Linked DNA regions of Homo sapiens: region 1 is linked to region 2. Evidence: promoter capture Hi-C in 16 types of primary human blood cells and fetal thymus (Javierre and others, 2016). All regions are on one chromosome and are shown on one strand. Each heading gives the region's core, a stretch centred on a gene start or on the middle of the fragment in contact. The rest is flanking DNA. Distances are from core to core; before and after follow the strand shown.

Region 1 (4,855 bases), core at 1-2,500, 580 kb after region 2:
AGATGTGACCCGTTAACCAAAATGGCTTCCATTTTTTCTGCTGCTGCTTCATCTGCAGGCGAGAAGTAGGAAAGTGTTAGAAAAATCAAGCAGCAATCCAGGCATCGCTCGTAGCCACATTCCTCCCTCCTTGCTGGGGTTCATCACAATAGATAGCTCCCTGTGCTTCCACCCGCACACACAACACTGTCGCCCTGGTGGCCCTGCCCTCCCATGTAGGCACTAGCAGGCTCCTGCTCTTTGCCGGAAGAGAGGGATAGAATCAGAAGAAGAAAAGGCCTGAGAGGCGCCTTGACCTTGTTTCCAACAGCATCAGCCTCAGAGAGATGGCCAGAGGAGGGGATGTGAGAACACACATGGCCAGGAAGATGAAGGTAGGGGGTACCCTCAGGCCCCAGAGTTTCCCCTTCCTGCTACCCACATACTTGATGGAATGAGAAAGGCAAGTGAGAGGCAGGCCAGGAAGCCCTGAGAGAAGGGGCCGCATCCCACTTCCCAGCAGCACAGCAAAGGTGCTGGGAGACCCCTGAGAGAAGTGGCTCCCCAGGGATCCTGGGCAGGCAGCACAGGGGCCTCAGCGCAGATTCCCACACCCCAAGCTCCCTGTGGAAGCTGAAAAGAAAGGCAGACCCAAGAGGCCAGTGGGCCAGGACTAAGGACTGGTGAAAGGCACTCCTGAAGACCTGCAAGGGGTAAGGGGAAGGGGAAGAGGAAGCAGAAGGAGAAGGAGAAGGGGAAGGGAAGGGAACAACAAATATCTCTTATGAATATAGATGTGTGGATGCAAAAGTCCTCAACAAAATGCTAGCATACCAAATCCATAAATATAGAAAAAGAATTATACACCATGAAAAAGTGGGAATTATCCCAGGAATGCAAGGTTGGTTTAACATCTGAAAATCAATTAATGTACTACACCATATCAAAAGACTTTTAAGAACACACACATACACACACATAACCATCTCAACAGATACAGAACAAATATTTGACAAAATCTAATGCTTTTTTGTAATGAAACACTTCATAAACTAGGAATGGAAGGAGACTTCCTCAATTTGATACAAGGAATCTACCAAAAAACACACAGATAAAATTATACTTAATAGTCAAAGATTGGATGCTTTCCCTCAAGATTAGACACAAGCCAAGGATGGCTGTTCTTGCCACATCTATTCAGCATTAAGTAGACATTCTAGCCAGGGCAATTAAGCACACACACAAAAAAGGCATCCATATTTGAAAGGAAGAAATAAAACTATCTCTATTCACAAATTACATAGAAATTTTCTACACAGAAAATCCTAAGGAATCTACTAAATAAAACTATTAGAATTAATAAGTAATTTCATCGAGCTTACAGGATACAAGGTCAATATACAGAACCAATTATATCTCAAAACAATGCACAATCTGAAAATAAAGTTGAAACAATTCCATTTATAATAGCACCAAAAAGAACAAGAGAAATAAATTTAATAAAAGTTTAAAATTTATACTTTAAAGACTATAAAACGTAGTTGAAAGAATTAAAGGTCTACATAAATGAAAAATATACCATATTCACGGATCAAAAAACTTAAGATTGTTAATATGGCAATACTCCCAAAATTGATCTATACATTCAAGAAAGCCCTATTAGAATCCCAGGTGGCTTCTTTGTAGAAGTTAACAAGCTAATTCTAAAATTCATATAAAAATTCAAGGGACCTAGACTAGCCAAAATACTCTGACAAAAGAACAAACTGGAGGATTCATACTTCCTGATTGCCAAACTTACTACAAAGCAGCAGTAATCTAGATAGTGTGATACTGAGATAGGGATAAACATATAAATCAATAAAATAGAGCTAAGAGTCCAGAAATAAACCCTCACATATATGGTCAATTAATTTTCAACAAGAGTGCCAAAACCATTCAATGGGGGAAAAACGTAGTCTTTTCAACAAATCATACTGAGATAATGGGATAGCCACATATAAAATAATGACATTGAACTCTCGCTTCACACCATATACAAAAATTAACTCAAGATGGATCAAAGACCTAAACATAAGAGCTAAAACTATACAACTTTTAGAAAACATGGTCGCAAATCTTCATGATTGGATTTGACAATAGGTTCTTAGATATGACATCAAAAGCATGAGCAACAAAAGAAAAAATAGATAAATTGGGCTTTATCAAAATCAGAACTTTTGTACTTCAAAAGACACTACTTAAAAAGTGAAAATACAAACCACGGAATGAGAGAAACATTTGAAAATCACATATCTCATAAGGAACTTGTCTCTAGACTATATAAAGAAATGTTATGACTCAATAATAAAAAGACAAATTACCCAATTTTTTAAAATGGGAAAATGATATGGATAGTCATTTCTCCAAAGAAGTCCCACAAATAGCCAAGAAGCACATGAAAAGATGTGTAACATCATTAGTCATAAAGGAAATGCAAATCAAAACCAAAAGAGAACACGACTTCATACCCACAAGCATGGCTGTAATCAGAAAGTCAGATAACAAGAGAGTGAGGATCAGGAGAATGTGGAAGAGGTGAGAATGTGGAGAAATTGGAATCTTCATACATCACTGGTGGGAATGTAAAATTGTGCAGTCACTTTGGAAAACAGTCTAGCAGTTCCTCATATGGTGAAACATAATCAAATGATCCAGCAATGACATTCCTACGTATTTACCCAAAAAAGGAAAACATGTCTACTCAAAAAGTAGTACATGCATGTTTGTAGCAGCATTATTTATAATAGGCAAAAAGTGGAAACAACTCAACGTCAACTGATAAATGGATAAACAAAATGCAGTATTTCCATACAAGAGGATATTATTTGGCCCTAAAAAGGGATGAAGTACTGATACATGATCCAACATGGATGAACCTTGAAAACATTAGGCCACCTATTATATGATTCCACTTACTTCAAATGTTCAGATTAGTCAAACCTATAGAGACAGAAAGTAGATGAGTGGTTGCTTAGAGCTGGGAGGAGATGGGAGGATGAAGAGTGATCCTTAAAGTACAGAGTTTCTATACAAGGCGATAGAAATGTTATGAGGCTGACTGTGGTGCTGGGTTGCACATATCTGTGAATATACTAAAAACTATTGACTTGTACACTTTAAATGGTTGAATTTTGTGGCATGTGAATTATATCTCAAAACTGTCATAAAACAAATGAGATTTCCCTATGCCCATTTTCCTTACTGCTCTGCAATTCCTGCCACAGGTGACGCTTCTTTCTACCCTCCACATCACTCTTTTTGAAGGTGCCACAGATTCCAGCCCCAGGGTCAGCCTAGACAAAATAAGGAGGATTGACTGTGGTCTGGAGCTGGATCAGGGTATTCCTGGGTTCCTAATACAATATCATCTTTTTAAAACAAGGTATTGCACAGTGTGTGAACAAGCATGGAAAATAACCCGTGTACTCAACACCCAGCTCATTAAGTCTAAGCAGTTTGTCATTTTTGCTCCAGATTTTTTAAGTGAAAATATTTCAGATACAGCTGTAGCCCTTTATATACCCTTCCAGTGATGAACCTACAGGCTGCTTCCAATTTTTCCTACTACAAATAAGGTTACAATTAACACAAATACAGATGAGAGCTCCCCTGGAGTCTATACTGTAAAGTTAAATTTCTTTGTCCTAGGGAATGCACATTTTTAAATTCACTGGATATCATCACATTGCTGTCCTGTTTATAAAAACTTACATTTGTGTTTGACAGTGGTTGATAGTTATCATTTCTCTACATCTTCACCAATAGCTGGTATTATCAGACTTTATTGCCAGACTGGTGGGTGTGAGATGGTATCAGATTGTTTGATTAGCTGTGAGGCTGAGCATGCTTTAAATGTTTAAATGTCTTCTGTGTCTTGCCTGTTCATATCCTTTGCCCAATTTTTTATTGGGTTGTCTGCACATTCCTTATTAAGTTATAGGCATTTGATATGCTGTATGTTTCTTATATCCTATATTTTATGTTCCACATTTTTATATGTTCTTCTTTTTTATTTTTGAGACAAGATCTCATTCTGTTGCCCAGGCTAGTGTGCAGTAGTGCAATCTCGGATCTTTGCAGCCTCGGCCTCTTGGGCTCAGGTGATCCTCTCAACTCAATCTCCCAGGTAGCTGTGACTACAGGCTTGCACCACCATGCTCAGCTAATTTTTGTATTTTTTTGTAAGATGGGCTTTCGCCATGTTGCCCAGGCTGATCTCAAACTCCTGAGCTCAAGCAGTCCTCCCACCTCGGCCTCCCAGAGTGCTGGGATTATAGGTGTGAGACACCACATCCATTTTTCTATGTTCTATGTACAAATAGTCCCTGACTTACACTTAGGATTGTTTGACTTACAATTGTTCAACTTTACAATAGTAGAGAGCGATATGCATTTAGTAGAAACTGTACTTTGCATTTTGAATTTTGATCTTTTTCCAGACTAGCAATACGCAGTACAATACTTTCTCATAACGCTCCACAGTATTTCATAAATTCCATGAGATTTTTCAATACTTTATTATAAAATAGGCTTTGTGTTAGATGACTATTGCCCAACTATAGGCTCGGGTGGTTGTTCTGAGCATGTTTAAGGTAGGCTAGGCTAAGCTATGATGTTCCATAGGTTAGATATATTAAATGCCTTTTCCATTTATATTTTCAACTTACAATGAATTTATCAGGACATAATCCCTTCGTAAATCAAGGAGCATCTGTACTAATAATTCACTATTTTATGCTTTGCAGGTGTCTTTTCAAAGTCTGTGGCTTGTATTTTGATGTAGTTTATAATGTCTTCTATTATACAGAACTTTGATCTGGTCAAAATTATCAAT
Region 2 (4,665 bases), core at 794-3,293:
GAATAGCCACGATACTGAGTGACATTGGGCGAGTGAGGTGGGGGAGAGACTAGACAACACCCCACATAACCCATCTTGACAGATGTCTCAGAAAGATTATGGGAATTTCCTGGCCCCTCTGCAATGTGGGATTCCATTTTGCTACCTCTAGAAGGACAGGGTCTTGTTTTCATAGCTCTGCCTCCTACTCTGAGATAAAGGCATGCAAGACCTGAGCTACTACTACAATACCCCACACAGAAGGAGAAAATCAGGCACATCTGGATTCAAGTTTTGTGGGTGATTCCATGATTGCCTCCAGTGAACAATCTGGGAAGCACAGTGTCCATATCGCCATTTCAGGGGTACTGGCCCCAACATCAGCCCTTAGGCCTAAGCCCTAGAGACCTTGACACCTGGTGGCTGAGTCAGTATCTCAGTAATGGGCTTTAGAAGGAAACCTGGTGATTCAGGGCCTCAAGAATGGCGTTGGGCAAGCCACCAGACCAGCTGCCTGGGTCTCCTCCTCCTTGTTGAGGTGACAACAAGGAACTCAGTTCAGCTCCTCCCTGGGTATCCAAATTATCCTTCCAAGTCCCAGACTCACAGCTGTCCTCCCTTCTGATTCAGCCCTGATGCTTTTCAGGGGGTCCCAGAAGTGGGATCCGGACTTGAGAGAATGTCACAGTTGAAAATGATAAGGATGCAAACGGAATGGAACTTTCAGAGAACCCCAATTTTCTACTCTAAGTTCTCCAAACCAACTCTCAAATCCAAGATAGCTGCCTTTCCTTTCTTCACCTCCTCTTCTTAGTTTTCCCCAACTTGGCTGCAAAGTCAGCCTCCCCTCTTCTCTTCCTTAGCACCTCAGACCAATAAAACATGCAACCTTTTCTTATTCTTTTTAAAAAATTTATTTTTGACCAGGCGCAGTGGCTCACGCCTGTAATGCCAGCACTTTGGGAGGCCAAGGCGGGTGGATCACGAGGTCAGGAGTTCAAGACCAGCCTGGCCAACATGGTGAAACCCCATCTCTACTAAAAATACAAAAAATTAGCTGGGTGTGGTGGCACACACCTGTAGTCTCAGCTACTCAGGAGGCTGAAGCAGAAGAATCACTTGAACTTGGGAGGCGGAGGTTGCAGTGAGCCGAGATTGTGCCACTATACTCCAGTCTGGGTGACAGAGTGAGACTGCCTCAAAAAGAAAAAAAATTATTTTGTTTGTTTTTTAGATTTTGTAGAGATGGTGTTTCCCTAAGTTGCTCAGGCTGGTCTCGAACTCCTGGCCTCAAGTGATCCTCTCGCCCGGGCCTCCCAAAGTCCTGGGATTACGGGTGTAAGCCAACATGCCTGGCCCCTTTACTTCTTCTTTTCTGTTTTGGTCACAAAACATTTCTCTGTTGATCACTGTAGTGTGTGTGTGGAGGGAAGTGGGGGAGGTACACTCTTAAGAAATGAAATAGTTAACATCTTGGTCCTAAGATTTGTTGTAGAGATGGAGTCTTCTCATTCTGTTCCCCAGGCTGGTCTTGAACTCCTGGCCTCAAGCAATCCTCTTTCCTCGGCTTCCCAAAGTGCTGAGATTGATTACAAGTGTGAGGTACTGCGCCCTGCTACAATCCTTTAATAGGATGTTTTTGGGGGGGGTGGCAGGGGGCAGGATCTAGCTCACTGTAACCTATACTGTTCCAGTGTAACCTGCACCAAGCCATCCTCCCACCTCAGTCTCTTGAGTAGCTAGGAACACAAGCACACATCACCACACCTGGCTCTAACACGATTTTGCTTTTTGCTTTTGTCATTTTGGCTGCTGTTCTTTTTATCTTTCATTCATTCAAGGTCTGAAGATGGAGATAATAGGAATCTTCTCATCTCAATGTGCTCTTTGGCCCCTCCTCTTAAACTGATGCCCCTCTCAGGCCCTGAGGGATTTGGCCTCAGGTTGCCCTGGAAGGGGTGTGAGTGATCAGACAGGTGACTGAGAGCTGGGACGCCTGAGGCCTGCCTAGGCTGAGTCACCTAGTAATGTTGTTGTCATTGTTCCTGTTGAAGTCCCAGCTCAGTGTCACAGACCTTTGTGGAAGCAACAACAGCTCCCATCCTTCCAACCTTTCTGGAGAAGCCGTGGCCTGATGGTGAGCCGAATGGGCTGGGGGGGGAGAAGAAGGCGGCTGGGGCGGTGGGGAGATCTGGGGCCCGGATCGGTGCCCCTCCTCCCCATGCCACTGCCACCTCCTCCTCCTCCTTCATGCCGGGGACCTGGGGGAGGGAGGATCTCCATCTTCTCTCTGTCCCCTGCCCCTCATACAAGAAGCTCCCCCTCCTCATTTTCCCCTCCCACCGCAGGGCCCCCTTGCTCAGTGCTACAGGGGACAGGGGCTTCTCAGTCTTGCCACAGTGCTCTCCCTATCCCAGCCACCCCCCCAACACAGGCTCAACCTGCAATGACACCTGCCTCTGCATCTCCCTCCTGGGGATCCCACTCCACCCCACCCCTGGCCCCGGCAACCCCCACTCCCTCACAGCAGTGCCCCCAGGACTCTCCTGGGCTGCGGGTAGGCCCTTTGATCCCTGAACAGGATTATGAGCGGCTGGAGGACTGTGACCCTGAGGGGTCCCAAGACTCACCCATCCACGGGGAGGAGCAGCAACCCCTGCTTCATGTCCCTGAAGGGCTCCGAGGTATGTGTGTGGGTGTGGGTGGGAGAGGGTTAGTGGTGCCTGGGAGCTCCAGTACTTATCCCAGGCTGGGCCTCTGGCAGCGGGTTGAGAACGTGGAGAATTGATCACATGCCAGGGGCTGACACTCTCCCCTCTGTGCCCAGGCTCCTGGCATCACATCCAGAACCTGGACAGTTTCTTCACCAAGATATCCTTTGCGCTAGGCCTGCAGAGGTGGCATGGGAAGGTCCTCTTGGAGCTGGCACTGTTCTTGGCAGGGAGACTCCGTGAGGGCGTCATGGGTGGGAGACTTGTTGGGGCTGAGGGGAGGTGTCCTCAGGAGAGGCCCCCCGTGCCTCAGGCTTGTTCCTTGACACGCAGCCACATCTACAGCTACCACCAGCGGAATGGCTTTGCCTGCATCTTGCTGGAGGATGTCTTCCAGCTGGGGTGAGACGCTTAGCCCGGGCCCGGAACTCGGTCCCCTGGGCCCATGGCTTCCTTCTGTCATTTTGCTTCCTTAATTGTGCCAGCTGCTTCCATCCCATGCTTTCCCGAGCAGCCCAAGGGCTCAGCAGGGGCAGGGTCAGGGAGGATAACCATGGGCTGCTCTGGGGGCTGGGGCAGGAGCCCACCTGGCTGTCCCTGATCACTGCAGCATCCCGGCACCCCCCCTTCCTCCCGGCAGACAATTTATTTTCATTGTCACCTTCACAACCTTCCTCCTTCGATGCGTGGATTACAATGTTCTCTTTGCCAACCAACCAAGTAACCATACCAGACCTGGGCCGTTCCACAGCAAAGTGACCCTGTCAGATGCCATCCTACCCTCAGCCCAGTGTGCTGAGAGGTTAGTGACAACCTGGTGGGGCCCTGGGGGTGAAGCATGGGCAGTGGGTAGAGGAGTAGACGGGAGCCCCACTTTGTCCCGTCATCTAGATCAGCAGTTCTCAAAGCTTTTGGTCTTAGGACCAAAAATACACTTAATATACTTTAAGTTGTACTTAAGTGTATTAAGTTGTACTTAAAGTGTATTAAGTATATCTTTTTTTTTTTTTAAGACAGAGTTTCACTCTTGTTGCTCAGGCTGGAGTGCAATGGTGAGGTCTTGGCTCACTGCAACCTCCACCTCCCAGGTTCAAGCAATTCTCCTGCCTCAGCCTCCCCAGTAGCTGGGATTATAGGCGTGCACCACCACGTGTATTTTTAGTAGAGACAGGGTTTCACCATGTTGGCCAGGCTGGTCTGGAACTCCTGGCCTCAGGTGATCCACCCACTTTGGCCTCCCAAAGTGCTGGGATTACAGGTGTGAGCCACTGTGCCCGGCCTTTTAAGTGTATCTTAATTACAGTGCATTAAGTGTATCTTAATACACTTAAAATTGGTTGAGAATCCTGAAAAGCTTTTGTTTATGGGAGTCGTATCTATCCACATTTTACCTTATAAAAAATTAAAATTAGGCCGGGCATAGTGGTTCACACCTGTAATCCCAGCACTTTGGGAGGCTGAGGCAGGAGGATTGCTTGAAGCCAGAAGTTTGAGATCAGCCTGAGCAACAAAGTGAGACCACATCTCTATAAAAAATAAAAATTAGCTGGGCTTGGTGGTGCGTACCTGCAGTCCTAGCTAAGCCTAGTCAGGAGGCTAAGACAGTGACTGTCTCTGATCACTGCAGCATCCCTACACCCTCCTCCCTCCCAGCAGACGATTCATTTTCATTGTTGCCTTCACAACCTTCCTCCCTGAAGCATGGATTGCAATGTTCTCTTTGCCAACCAACCAAATAACTGTTCCAGACCTGGGCCGTTATTTGGCAGGGAGATAGGAGCTATGTTTCTACTGCTGCACTACAGCCTGGGTAACAGAGAGAGACCTTGTTTCAATAAAAAGGAAAAAAAAAAAAGAAGGAAATTGTAGCTGAGAACAACTTTAAAATGTAAGAGTGCGGCTGGGCGTGGTGGCTCACACCTGTAATCTCAGCACTTTGGGAGGCCGAGGCGGGCGGATCACAAGGTCAGGAGAT

Evidence for each region. Contacts are between HindIII fragments. The CHiCAGO score rates a contact against its expected background, and 5 or more counts as called.
Region 1: a fragment that was not itself captured here is called in contact with the fragment with the promoter of ATG9B in region 2 in 1 of 17 cell types (non-activated CD4 T cells); the score reaches 5.2 in non-activated CD4 T cells.

Annotation. Positions count from the first base shown.
Region 1 is chr7:150,437,746-150,442,600 of GRCh38, reverse strand. It overlaps LINC00996 (long intergenic non-protein coding RNA 996), which reads right to left. Exons shown (of 4, transcript NR_034033.1): 2 at 1-52. Among named protein-coding and RNA genes, the nearest start is that of LINC00996, 6.5 kb to the right of the region's middle. The HindIII fragment of the contact is 7,363 bases long and covers 1-4,855 here.
Region 2 is chr7:151,021,872-151,026,536 of GRCh38, reverse strand. ATG9B (autophagy related 9B) reads left to right here and starts at 2,043. Exons shown (of 14, transcript NM_001317056.2): 1 at 2,043-2,663; 2 at 2,807-2,850; 3 at 3,028-3,092; 4 at 3,331-3,492. The coding sequence starts at 2,114. It overlaps LOC124901777 (a long non-coding RNA gene), which reads left to right. Exons shown (of 3, transcript XR_007060593.1): 3 at 1,504-1,542. RefSeq lists an enhancer at 528-1,132. The HindIII fragment of the contact is 8,592 bases long and covers 1-3,600 here.